3 separate regions of the Homo sapiens genome follow, and all the other regions are linked to region 2. The links are contacts of gene promoters, found by promoter capture Hi-C in blood cells and fetal thymus (Javierre and others, 2016). All regions are on one chromosome and are shown on one strand. The core of a region is centred on a gene start or on the middle of the fragment in contact, and the rest is flanking DNA. Distances in the headings are between cores, read along the strand shown. Region 1 overlaps IQCJ-SCHIP1 (IQCJ-SCHIP1 readthrough). Region 2 holds the start of IQCJ-SCHIP1-AS1 (IQCJ-SCHIP1 readthrough antisense RNA 1). Region 3 overlaps IQCJ-SCHIP1 (IQCJ-SCHIP1 readthrough).

Region 1 (4,003 bases), core at 354-2,853, 450 kb before region 2:
GGTCTTTCTAGACACGACATACAGTATATCACTTAGCAGGTTATGAGCCAGGGATCTCCTATATTAATATTTTCTAAGTCATAAGGAATCCCGTATTAGCTAGGGTAGGCTAGCTGCTATAAAAAGGAACTCTACAATCTCAGTGGCATAAGACCATAAATGTTCATTTCTCACTCACATCAATGTTCATCACAGATTGGTGAGAAAGTGGTGATCTATGGGCCATGGCTCAGTAACCTAGGCAGACAAAGGTTCCCTTCTTTTGAACTTGGCACAAGAAAGGAAGCCTTAGGTTAAAAACAGTCAGCCAAAAAAATGTCAGAAGAGAAAGTGTGTGGAGGATTGCATGGAATTTTGTGCCAATTTCGCAAGTGACGTGCATCGCCTCCTCCCACATAGGTCCAAAACTCAATTTCATTATCCCATCTAACTGCAAGGGGAACTGGGAACCATGTTCTGACTGTCTACTCAGGATGAAGTGGAAATGGGGTTTGGTGAGCACCTATCAATCTCTCTCTCTCTCCCCATTTTGGTCACCAAGCACTCATTTCACACTTCATCCTTTAGGCAGAATGAGGAAATCTGAATCCCTGCGTGGACTTCAGAGTCTAGAATCTCTGGGAGGTGCCTGGTCCAACTTAACAGCTTCAGAGGTGGCTTCTTACCACCTGCTGACCTATGAATTAAAAAGGCAAAAATTATCAACTCACCCTCCTCTGTACCTTCAGCAAACCATAGCAGAACAAGGATAAACACCATGGCTGGCATTTTTCAACAGGGAAAAACAGATAATCAATAGTCAGCTAGAAAGCATTTTTCTTACCTTTGCTTTTGCAGATCCTTGCATTATTCTTTAATTTCAATCACAAATGTCATATCCTTTCTTTTTTGCTATTATTCATCTTGAGAAATTGCCAAAGTATTTGTATCATATTAAGAACCTATTAAATCTGTTTGGTCTCTTGTAGCTCAGATTAGCAACTATGAAGCTACTTAGTAAAATACTCTATAGTCCTTATTATTTAAAGCATATAATGGAGTTAACAACAAAAAGCTTCTTTATCAGTGATTTATAAGGATTACAGAAGAAGATTTACGAGCTCTAGAAGAGTTGAGGAAATTACTTCTGAAGCAAGATACGCAGGAAAGAAAGAAATAGTACAAAAGCAAAGTTCTTTGGTTTCATGACATTTAAATTATTGTTAACTGGCATATATTGGTCTGTGCCTCCCTAAACTTGGGCACTTTCTGTTTGTTTTTCTGTTTAGTGCCTAGGGACCATAATGACAGCCACTACATTTTGTTGGCACAAATGCCACTGCTGCAGAGAACTGAGAAAATATGTGAAACTTTGATAATATTTGTTGAAGATTTTAAGTCCTGAAATAAGAATAGAAGTAAGTAGTTGTATGCAAACATTTTAAATTTCAAAATAATTTTAGATTCACAAGAGTTGCAATCCTAGTACAGAGAGTTTCTGTATACCCTGCATCCAGTTTCTCCTCATGTTAACATCTAATGTAGCCAGGTACAGTTATCAAAGTAAGAAATTCAAACTGGCATAATATAACTGACCAAACCACAGACTTCATTTAGATCATTATTTTTCCCACTAATTTTTTTTTTCTGTTCTGGCATCTAATCCAGGATCCCACATTAAATTCTGTTGGCATGTCTCCTTAATCTCCTCTAATCTGCAACTGGTCCTCATTATTGCCTTGTTTTCTATCACCTTAACTCCTTTGAAGAATACTATCAGGTATTTTGTAGAATGTCCCACAATTTTGGTTTGCCTGATGTTTTCTCAGGGTTAGACTTAGGTTATGAGTTTGGGAGAATACCACAGAGGTAAAGTGCGTGCTTTGCTGTGTCATATAAGGAGCCACATGATATTACCCTGACTTATCACTAGTGATATTATCTTTGTTCACTTGTATAAAGTGATATCTGTCAGGTTTCTTTATGGTAAAGGTACTATTTTTCTTTTTGTAATTAATAGATATTCAGGGAGATAGTTTGGGTCAGTGCTTGCATTTTATCTTTCACTGCAGACACCTGCTTTTCCCTAGGTTCTGAGTAGTTGCTGGCCCTACAACCTCAGCATTCTGATGGGTAGAAGTTTGTAAACTTACTGTTTGTCAGTAATTTTGTCGTAAGCTTGAGAATAGCACTGTTTCCATCTCAGCAGAAACTGGAAGTCCAGTATTTGGAGTTCAAATAAGTGCTCTTCATATTAACTGTTATTGTTAGTTGTCAGAAGATCAATACTCCATTTCATTCTAGAAGATCAGTCTTAGTCAAATTTCATCATCCCGTTTCTTCTGCTAGTGATGTGCTTTGGAATCAGTATGTGACTGACTTGTAGCCAATGAGATATGAGAGGAAGCATGCTCTTGTTTTCCTAAGGAAAAATTCTTTTCTCTTAATAGGGGAAAATAAGTAAAAGATAGTTCACCTTCTACCTCTGGACATAGGTATGTCTGGATATATTGCTTAAAACTGTGGCTACCATTTTGTTTCCAATATGAAACTGAGGCCAACACTGAAAACAGCAAAACAAAAGCAGGAAAGAACCTGGATCTTTGATCATATTACTAAGCTGTCATTCCAATCAACCATGGTACTGAGCCTACCTATGGATTTCTAGTTACGAGCAATAGTAAATTTCTTTATTGTTTAAGCCAATTTGAGTTTTGGTATTTCAATTACTTGGATCCCAATGGCTTATAGCTGATATCACCACTTTAAGGAAAGTATGATTTTTATGCAAATATATTACAGCCTATTTATCTGTTCTATTGTTAATGGGCATTTGGATTATTTCCAGTTTTATTGTTTAGGAACTGTGCGGCTATGAACATTCTAATAGATGTCTTTTGTTGGAATGTCCACATTTCTTTTGCATGTACATATAGCCAAGAATGAAATTGCTCAGTTAGAAACAATGTTCATGTTAGGTTTTAGTAGCTATTGCGAAAAGCTTTTCTAAAGGGTTTATATTAATTTACACTCTTACCAGAAATGTATGAGAGTTATAGTTGCTCCATGTCCTTGTCAACACTTGGTACTATCAGTCTTTTTTTTAGGACTTCTTTTTTTTTTTTTTTTTTTGAGATGGAGTCTCACTGTGTCACCCAGGCTGGAGTGCAGTGGCACAATCTGGGCTCACTGCAAGCTCCGCCTCCCGGGTTCACGCCATTCTCCTGCCTCAGCTGCCTGAGTAGCTGGGACTACAGGCACCCACCACTATGCCCGGCTAATTTTTTGTATTTTTTTGTATTTTCTTTCTTTTTTTTTTTTTTTTAGTAGAGACAGGGTTTCACTGTGTTAGCCAGGATGGTCTCGATCTCCTGACCTCATGATCCACCCACCTCAGCCTCCCAAAGTGTTTAGGACTTCTAATGCTTGTATAAGTATAGTAGTATCACATTGTGACTAATGATTTTTATATATATATTCATAATTATATCAGTTCTAAAGTAATGTCTATATACTTTATCATTTTAGAACCATAGCCTAAGTATAAATTGTTGGGAAACCATTAGAAGACAGTTAATAGTCATGCAAACTTAAGTAGAAGGTAAGAGAAATAAGAAGGGAGAGATATTAAACTTAAGTGTATGTTGTTCTATAAATAAGCTCTAGTCTATTTCTAAGGGTAGGTTTTGTTTTGTAGAGTAGAACAGCAAGATTAAAACAAAAGACAGAAACTGCTCCAACTTATGACATGTTAGACATAAAACATACTCATCAGTAGGAGAGACATAAAAAGGCACAGTGAAAAGAAGGGTCTTCATCAAGTCACTTATTTTTTTGTCGGGGAGGGGGTAGGGGGCTTATCTGTAAAGTGAGGAAATGGAGTTAGAAGATTTTCCTACTTTCTTCACATTCTTTTAATGTAAATATTTCTTGTCATCCACATCAGACCGTGAGACTAAGTCTGAGGCAAGGAGGGCTCCTAAGGCTCAAATCATTGCCTATGACCCCTGGAGATCAGGTACCT
Region 2 (3,946 bases), core at 57-2,556:
TTTTAAAACTTTAGTTTTATATGTATGGTGGGTTGCAACATAAAGTTTACTTCTCACTATGGGTCGCTGTTATAAAAGATTGAAAAGCACTGATTTAAATCCTGTTTAGTGCTGCCTGGAGTACGTAAGGGAATTTATGACCATGAGGACAGAAACCGGAGAAGAACAAAGGAGCCGTGTGGAAGAGAAGGCCTGCCTTGAAGGAACTGTTCAAATCCAATGATATTTTACTCCTCTTTAAAATGTCTTGTATGAATATATTTAAGTGGCATTAATACACACCACTAGGAATGGGGTATACAATGAAAAGGGGATAGCTTCTCTTCACCAAGTAAGCCTATTCCTACTTCAGGGCTTTTGCCCTTCTGTAACCTCTGCTTGGAAGCAAGTGTCTGGTTCCTTCTCATCATTCCAGACTCAGTTCAACTCTCACCAGCTCAGAGAAGCTGTCCCCCACCACCCTTCCTAAAGTAAAGTAACAGCACTGCACCCCAACTCCAGCACTCCTGGTGTATTGTTTTCTTAGTGCTTGTCACTATCTGACATTATCTTATTTAGTCCTCTATTTTTGGTCCCTCTGAAATGTAGGCGGGAGTTCTTGCCTGTTTTTTAACTCTATAACCTATTGCCTGGAACATGCCTGGGATGGAGTAGGTTCTCAAATATTGAATGAATGAATGAATGAATGTTTATGACAACAACACAACCCATACCTAATCCAACTCCCATTTTACAGTTGAGAAAATTGAAGCCCAGAGAGGTTAAGTGATTTGCCTCAGACCCAGTGAGAAACTTATGAACAGGGTTTTGTTCTTTCTTGTGACACCAGACTAGTTCCCCGCCCCCTTTTTTAATGCTTAAAATAATTTGAAATAAAAGGAAAGGAAGGAGCTCCCACCTCCCTGAAACTTAAAGGGTTTCCTATTGACAAGTCTCTTATTGCACTTCCTTAGAATTAAGGACATAAGTAAACTGGGAAATCATCAAAACCCCCTTACTTATGAGTCTTCTTTTGTAGACAGGGTTTTGTATTGTTTTGTTTCAATGACATACTATTGGGTTCTGCAGAGCAGGGTAGTGACAGAATCCATGTCTCCTCACTCCACATCCAGTGCTCTTTCCTTCCTCTTAGTTGTGGTGATGCACGCAGAAGGATGACTGAGGTCTCAAAAATGGGATGACAATCAGCTATCCCTAATTCAGATAAGATTGAGAGGCAAATTTAAAAATGCACAATGTTTAGGTGGGATTTAAAACCTAGCACTGACCTTCACTTTGCGATGGGTTTAGAAAACTAATCTCTCTCTTGGTATCTGTGGAGGATGATGAGCTTGGATGCTGTCAGGAACTATCTTTGGTGTCACAGCATGGAAGGGCCTGGGGAGTCCTGATGGAAACACTCTAGTGACTGGATCCTTGCTCCATCTCAGAGCTGGGGGCTCAAGACAGACCTCCAGCACCTGGTCCAGCCCTCCACTGTGATGTCATCACCTGGGACAGCCATATCCCCAGTAGTTCGCATTGTGCCTGGCACAAATAAATGCTTGAAACATGCAGAGAGGGTGAGGGGCTCTACCCAAAAACCAGAACTACTCCCAGAAGTGCCCCTTCCATGGGCAGCCCCTGCTCATCTGGTGTCAGTGTGCTTCTCACAGTCCTGCCCTGGGCTTGTATTCCGTCTTGTGCGTGAACACTCTTAATAAATTCAAGGGCCATAGATGGAGTAAAGAAAGGTTCTGGGGTTGGTGCCTTTGATGTCAGATTAGGAGTCCTGCTTGCAGAAGTTCATGTTTCTCTTAAATTCTTATCTTCTTGCCTACTCTAACTCTGGTGCACAGGACTGGACAGTTTTCCCTCTTATGAGAGCGGGCCACAAACAGTCGGCTTTCTCTCTTCTGCTTCTCCAGGACCTTAGTGCATCACTGTAGCCCTCTTGCTCCTGTTCAAAAGGCTCTGTGGACCTGTTGCCAAGTGGGGTGGGAGGGGGGGCACTGCCTCAGTGTACTCTTCCTCCTAAATGGAATATAATTACACATCTTTTTCTCTGTGTTTGTCCCTGAGGCTTCCTGTCCTTCATGGGACGTGTTCCTCCATGTCTAGCCTGTTCCCTGTCTCTGGAGACTCAGCCTATTTTGACGCTTTTCTTTAAAAATAGCTTTATTGGCCAGGCATGGTGGCTCAGGCCTGTAATCCCAGCACTTTGGGAGGCCAAGGCAGGCGGATCACCTGAGGTCAGGAGTTCGAGACCAGCCTGGCCAACGTGGTGAAACCCCATCTCTACTAAAAATACAAAAATTAGCCGGGCATGGTGGCGGGCGCCTGTAATCCCAGCTACTCGGGAGGCTGAGGCAGGAGAATCGCTTAAACCCAGGAGGCGGAGGTTGCAGTGAGCCAAGATCACACCATTGCACTCCAGCCTGGGTGACAAGAGTGAAGCTTCGTCTCAAAAATTAAATAAAATAAAATAAAAATAGCTTTATTAAGGTATAAGTGACATACATCAACTGTACATAGTTAAAATGTACAATTTGATGAGTTTTGACATATGTATGGCATATGTATGTGTTTTGACACACCTGTGAAACCATCATGAACATCAAGATAATGAACATATTTAGCATCCCCAAAAGTATCCTTGCACTCCTTTGTAATACCACCATCTTGTCCCTAGGCAACCAACTGATCTGATTTCTATGTTATAGATTAGTTTATGCCTTCTAAAATTAACATAAGTGGAATCACAGTATGTGTGGATTTTTGTGTGGCTTCTTTAACTCAGAAAGTGATTATTTTGAGATTCATCCATGTTATTGTATATATCAGTGGTTCGTTTGAACTCTTGCTGAGTAGTGTTCCATTTTGTGGATATACCATTTTCATCTGTTGTTATACATGTGCATTGTTTCTAGGTTTTGGCTATTACAAATAACATTGTTATGGACACATGTATACACTTTATCTATTTATTTTTGGGGTGAAGTTTTGCTCTTGTCACCCAGGCTGGAGTGCAATGATGCTATCTTGGCTCACTGCCACCTCCGCCTGCTCAGTTCAAGTGATTCTCCTGCCTCAGCCTCCTGAGTAGCTGGGATTACAGGCAGCCACCATCATGCCTGGCTAATTTTTGTATTTTTGTAGAGACGGGGTGTCACCATGTTGGTCAAGCTGATCTTGAACTCCTGACCTCAGGTAATCCGCCCACCTTCGCCTCCCAAAGTGCTGGGATTACAGGTGTGAGCCACTGTGCCGGGCCTGAATATACACTTTCATTTCTCTTGGGTAAATAACTAGAAATAAGAACGGCTTGATCACGTGGTAGGTGTATGTTTACCTGTGTAAGAAGCTGCCTGTCTTCCAAGGAAGTACTATTTTACTTTGCCATCACATGATGCTTAAATCACTGAAAGAGGTTTCCCCTTTTCCCATTGCTCTATTCCATCTGCATCCTGCTTTCCAGGACACCTCCCTTCAGGTGGCTGGGTGGCTGCTCCCTCCCTCTTAAGAGAAAACAACAAGAGAGCAAGGAGATCACTTGTCACATCCAACCAGTCTTTACTCCTGTTGTTTAAAAAAGGAAAGGAATCATTTTTAAATTAGAGAAGAGCTCTAGCTGTAGACTCAACACATTTTAAGTGCAGTTTTATTATTTTTTAGTGCCTCTGACAGGTGCATTTTCCTCATTTAATGAGAAGATAAGAACAATTTTAATTGACACGTTAATTGAAAGCAAATTCTTCTGACGAAGTTATTTCCAAAGTACTTGAAAATAATGTGTCTTTTTATTTGTTTATACTATTAGCTAGTAGCACACTTTTTAAATTACCTACATTTCTTCCTAGAATGGTACTAATTATAGGTTATTTTCAATGTATTATTCTGTAAGAATTACAGCCCAGTTACTTCTTCCCCATCAATGACACACTACTAAAGTAGCTTGAATGGCTGA
Region 3 (3,919 bases), core at 1,122-3,621, 510 kb before region 2:
AAGAAAAACAGAAATAAAAATGCACTTTGAGCAAGATTTCGTAATAAAACAGTGACCAAATATAATTCAAATTTGGGCCAGATTCTGCTTTAGTGAGGCTTGAAGTATGTATAATCTGAAGAGTCCTTTAAAAAAAAAACTCTAAAAGTATCTTATTTTTACAATTCTATACAAATCATGAAGAGCCCCTCATCAGGATCTTGGAAGAGGCTCCTGGCCTTTAAGTAAGAACCCCTAAAGCTTAAGTTTCCTAGCTTCAGGGAATTGGCTACTGACCCAAAAGTATTGTTTTCACTACAGTTGATGGACTTTTCCTTGAGCATTGTAATTCCCAGACCTTTAATAAATTAGGGAAAACATACAGATTCAATAATGTGGTCACATTTTTTTTGTTATTTATATGCTGTGACCATTGAGAATTGATGATCTTTGAACTATTCCAGCCAAATGAGAATAAATAAGTTTGTTGATTCAGAAACAACTTTAATGACATAGGTTGTGTGTGAAAGAATTACAGAGATCAGATGCTTCCAGGAGTTTAGAAGAGATAGTGATAGAATTAATACAGCTATCTTAAACTATTTTAAAAGGCTGAATCCTAACAACTAGTCCGCATGAACTGTTAACTCCCAGAAGAGGTTAGACTGTGTTCAGTGACCCCCCCTATGAAAATCGAGATGTTAATCTCAAAGATCACAAGCCAGTCTGATATGATTTGGCTCTGTGTCCCTACCCAAATCTCACCTTGAATTGTAATGATCCCCACATGTCAAGGGTGTGACCAGATGTAGACAATTGAATCATGGGGCAATTTCCCCCATGCCGTTCTGTTGATAGTGAGTTCTCAGGAGGTCTGGTGCTTTTACATGGGGCTTCCCCCTTTACTCAGAAGAGGTGCCTTCTGCCATGATTGTAAGTTTCCTGAGACCTCCCCAGCCATGCAGAACTGTGAGTCAATTAAACCTCTTTTCTTAATAAATTACCCAGTCTCGGGTATTTCTTCATAGCAGCATGAAAACGGACTAATACACAGTCCATGGGGGAATCACTTAGCTTATATTAAGAAGAGGTTTCCGTTATCCTGAGCAGAAGATAATTTATTTTTTCTGATACTAATCACAGAAAATAACTTCCTTAGGCGAAACCTGAAATAGCTGCCTAATGACATTACATTAATTCTCTGAGTAGTACGTAACACTTGAATAATCTTTGTCCATTTCTTTATTTATAATCTTTGTCCATTTCCTATTCCCTTCCACAGTATATAAAACCCATGATGTGGTGCTCTCGCCTGCCTTGTGCCCCACAGCAGGGCCACTGCATTTGGCCATGCAGACTGTGCTGCACATCACTGACACCTTCACCTTGCAGTCATGCAAAGGACTGCTCTGGAGCTGTGCACGGCAGAGTCCCTGTTCAGAGTCTACAGCTGACCCTGGCACAGAATGGCCCCTCAAAAATCACACATTGAGTGCATGCAGTAGTAGTCAGCCTATTTATTATTCTCATCTAAAATATAAGATGAAAAATTGAAAGAATTTGTTGTCTCATAAATCAAAGTACATTTACCTGTGCAAACTAGTTTGTTTTGACTGATGAATTTTATTATTAAGTTGACTCTTTTAGGCCGGTTGAGTGCAGTCAAGTCTGTGAAAGTCAAACCAGTAAGGTAGGGAGACAGTCTCCATGGCTGGATTGAAGTTAAAGTTCAGGTCTCCTGATTCACTACATCACATTCTGTATGTTCTACTTCCCTTGGCACCAAAGCCAATTCCTTCAGACTCCTTGTGAGTTTCTGAGTCTGTGGACCATGATCCAACAGTAATCATGTGTGTGCTGTTTTTTGTTTTGTTTTGTTTTTTCAGCATTCAGCGAGCATGGCGAGAGTACCTGCAGCGGCAGGAGCCCCTGGGGAAGAGGAGCCCGTCCCCACCCTCTGTCTCCTCAGAGAAGCTGAGCAGCTCTGTCAGCATGAACACCTTCTCCGACAGCAGCACACCCGTGAGTGTCATGTTTCTTTTTCTATGTCCTGACTTGACATTCAACTGAAAGCCTAGACTTTGGTTCTAAGAGAGAAATCTTGGGATGTGAGCAGGTGGTTTGTGACAGTGAAGATCTATGTAGCTTATTTGCTACCCAGGAACCCATGGTGAGAGTTTTGTCACCTCAAAATAAAGACACAATTCATAAGCACAAAGTGAACTTTATCAAGTCTGGAGAAAATAGATTGCATTTATGTGTTCTCATTTCTCTATTATGGAGGTATCTTTTTTGCTTTTCTTTATAATAGCATATTTCTTTTAGTATGTGCTGTGTGTTTCTTTTATTGTGTGGTGCTAATATGATAGAAGATAAGATTGGTTATAAGGAGTAGAAAGAGAACTTTTACCAGAAGAATTGAAAGTGGTCACACACTCAGGGGTTGCAACTTAAATGTCTCCAGGGGCCAGGTAAGTCACCCTCATGACTGAGGTGGCTGAGCTGTGCCCCTGGCTACACGGAGAACATAGACCTCACCTGAAGGGCAGCGCACTTGGCTCCTGACAATGTGACACCATGTGGCGATACAGGCAGGCATGGCCAAATGTGATTTTCTTTCTTCAGGACATGTCAGAAATCTGCATTTTTAAGTGTTAGCAGCCAGTAAGAAAATTTAAAAGGTAAAGTAAGCATGCCTACAGACCACAATTGACCTACAGGCCACCAGTTTAAGAAATCTGAGATAGAGAGTTAAGGAATAAGGGAATCTGCTGGAAGTCTTTATTTTTAAAAAACACCAAAAGTGGGAAGAAATCAGTGATGAGGGATTTATGAACCAGGATTTTGTGGATTTAAGCATTGTGATAATTTGTAACCAGTCACTGAAATGCTGAAAAGTTAGAGAAATGAAGTAATTACACAAGTATATTACTTCCAAAAATTTTTCTTTTACTTTTGGTTATCATGTTTATTCTGTGGTAAAAAGGTTTCCCAACACTCAACGCAATGTATTCTTTTTGGGATCAGGTAAAAGTTACTGTATTTGAAATGTTTTCAGATGGTTGCATTGCATATTCTTCAATAAATGGTTTTGCCTAGATATGGATTTAAAGAGAGAGAATAAGTTGAGTTTATAGCAGTGCAAATAAAAGTGGCAGAAGATCCATTTTTAATTGACAGCAGAAATTGAACATTTAGTGAATCTTCACTTTTTAAAACAATTATTTAGGGGAATGGCTTATCCTAACTGACCTCACTATCACTAGAGGGCACTCGTGAACTACACTGGAAAATGCCAGGGCTTCTCGTTTGTGTCTAACTCATGATTTGTGAGGTAAAAACTAAAGTGAGAATTGAATGTTTAAGATGTCTTTGCTGTAAATGCCAATAGAAAGTGCAAATTAGATGACTTTTGGATTTTATTTGAATGATGGAAACTCAATATTAGAAATCACTTTGTGAGTTAAATGTTTGGATTTACTTTTTTTGTACCTTCTCACAGCCCCAATTCACGACAATTCTCAATTGCTGCTGAATCCAGTGATATCTAAAAGTTTTAGTGTTGCTTTAGGGTGCTTAACCTTTCGGTTTTATTGGACTCCTATGAGAATATATGTTTGTTTTATATTTGTACGGCTGTACTGCTTCGATTCTAGCATAAGTGTTTTGTGCATAAATGCATGTTCTTCCCTGTTCATGAGTCATCAACTTCATTTATATCTCTGCACAGCTTCACTAACAGTTCTACTTTATTTAATTTAGCTTAGCCTCCTGATTCCTTGTTGGTTTTTAGTAGAAGATATTTCCTCCCTCAAATGTTCCCAGAAATTTGTTCTCCCATAAGGTATATCAGACTGAATTGGGGGTGCATCCTGTAGCCCCACCATATCATCATCCTTTAGCTCTGTGCTCATGTGCTGAGGATGACTGTATTCAGTGA

What was found. The method cuts DNA at HindIII sites, captures the fragments that hold promoters and counts their contacts. A CHiCAGO score of 5 or more calls a contact.
Region 1: a fragment that was not itself captured here is called in contact with the fragment with the promoter of IQCJ-SCHIP1-AS1 in region 2 in 1 of 17 cell types (erythroblasts); the score reaches 5.4 in erythroblasts.
Region 3: a contact is called between a fragment that was not itself captured here and the fragment with the promoter of IQCJ-SCHIP1-AS1 in region 2, in 3 of 17 cell types (erythroblasts, M2 macrophages and endothelial precursors). The highest score is 6.1, in erythroblasts.

What each region holds. Positions count from the first base shown.
Region 1 is chr3:159,312,106-159,316,108 of GRCh38, forward strand. The region is part of intron 4 of IQCJ-SCHIP1 (IQCJ-SCHIP1 readthrough); the gene reads left to right. All of the region lies in intron 1 of SCHIP1 (schwannomin interacting protein 1), which reads left to right. Among named protein-coding and RNA genes, the nearest start is that of MIR3919, 31 kb to the left of the region's middle. The HindIII fragment of the contact is 1,103 bases long and covers 1,053-2,155 here.
Region 2 is chr3:159,767,306-159,771,251 of GRCh38, forward strand. It overlaps IQCJ-SCHIP1-AS1 (IQCJ-SCHIP1 readthrough antisense RNA 1), which reads right to left and starts at 1,307. Exons shown (of 3, transcript NR_121669.1): 1 at 1,269-1,307; 2 at 999-1,194. The region is part of intron 4 of IQCJ-SCHIP1 (IQCJ-SCHIP1 readthrough); the gene reads left to right. All of the region lies in intron 2 of SCHIP1 (schwannomin interacting protein 1), which reads left to right. The HindIII fragment of the contact is 15,903 bases long and covers 1-2,434 here.
Region 3 is chr3:159,260,683-159,264,601 of GRCh38, forward strand. It overlaps IQCJ-SCHIP1 (IQCJ-SCHIP1 readthrough), which reads left to right. Exons shown (of 10, transcript NM_001414413.1): 4 at 1,866-2,001. IQCJ (IQ motif containing J) reads left to right here. Exons shown (of 4, transcript NM_001042706.3): 4 at 1,866-3,065. The coding sequence ends at 2,049. Among named protein-coding and RNA genes, the nearest start is that of SCHIP1, 11 kb to the right of the region's middle. The HindIII fragment of the contact is 4,266 bases long and covers 239-3,919 here.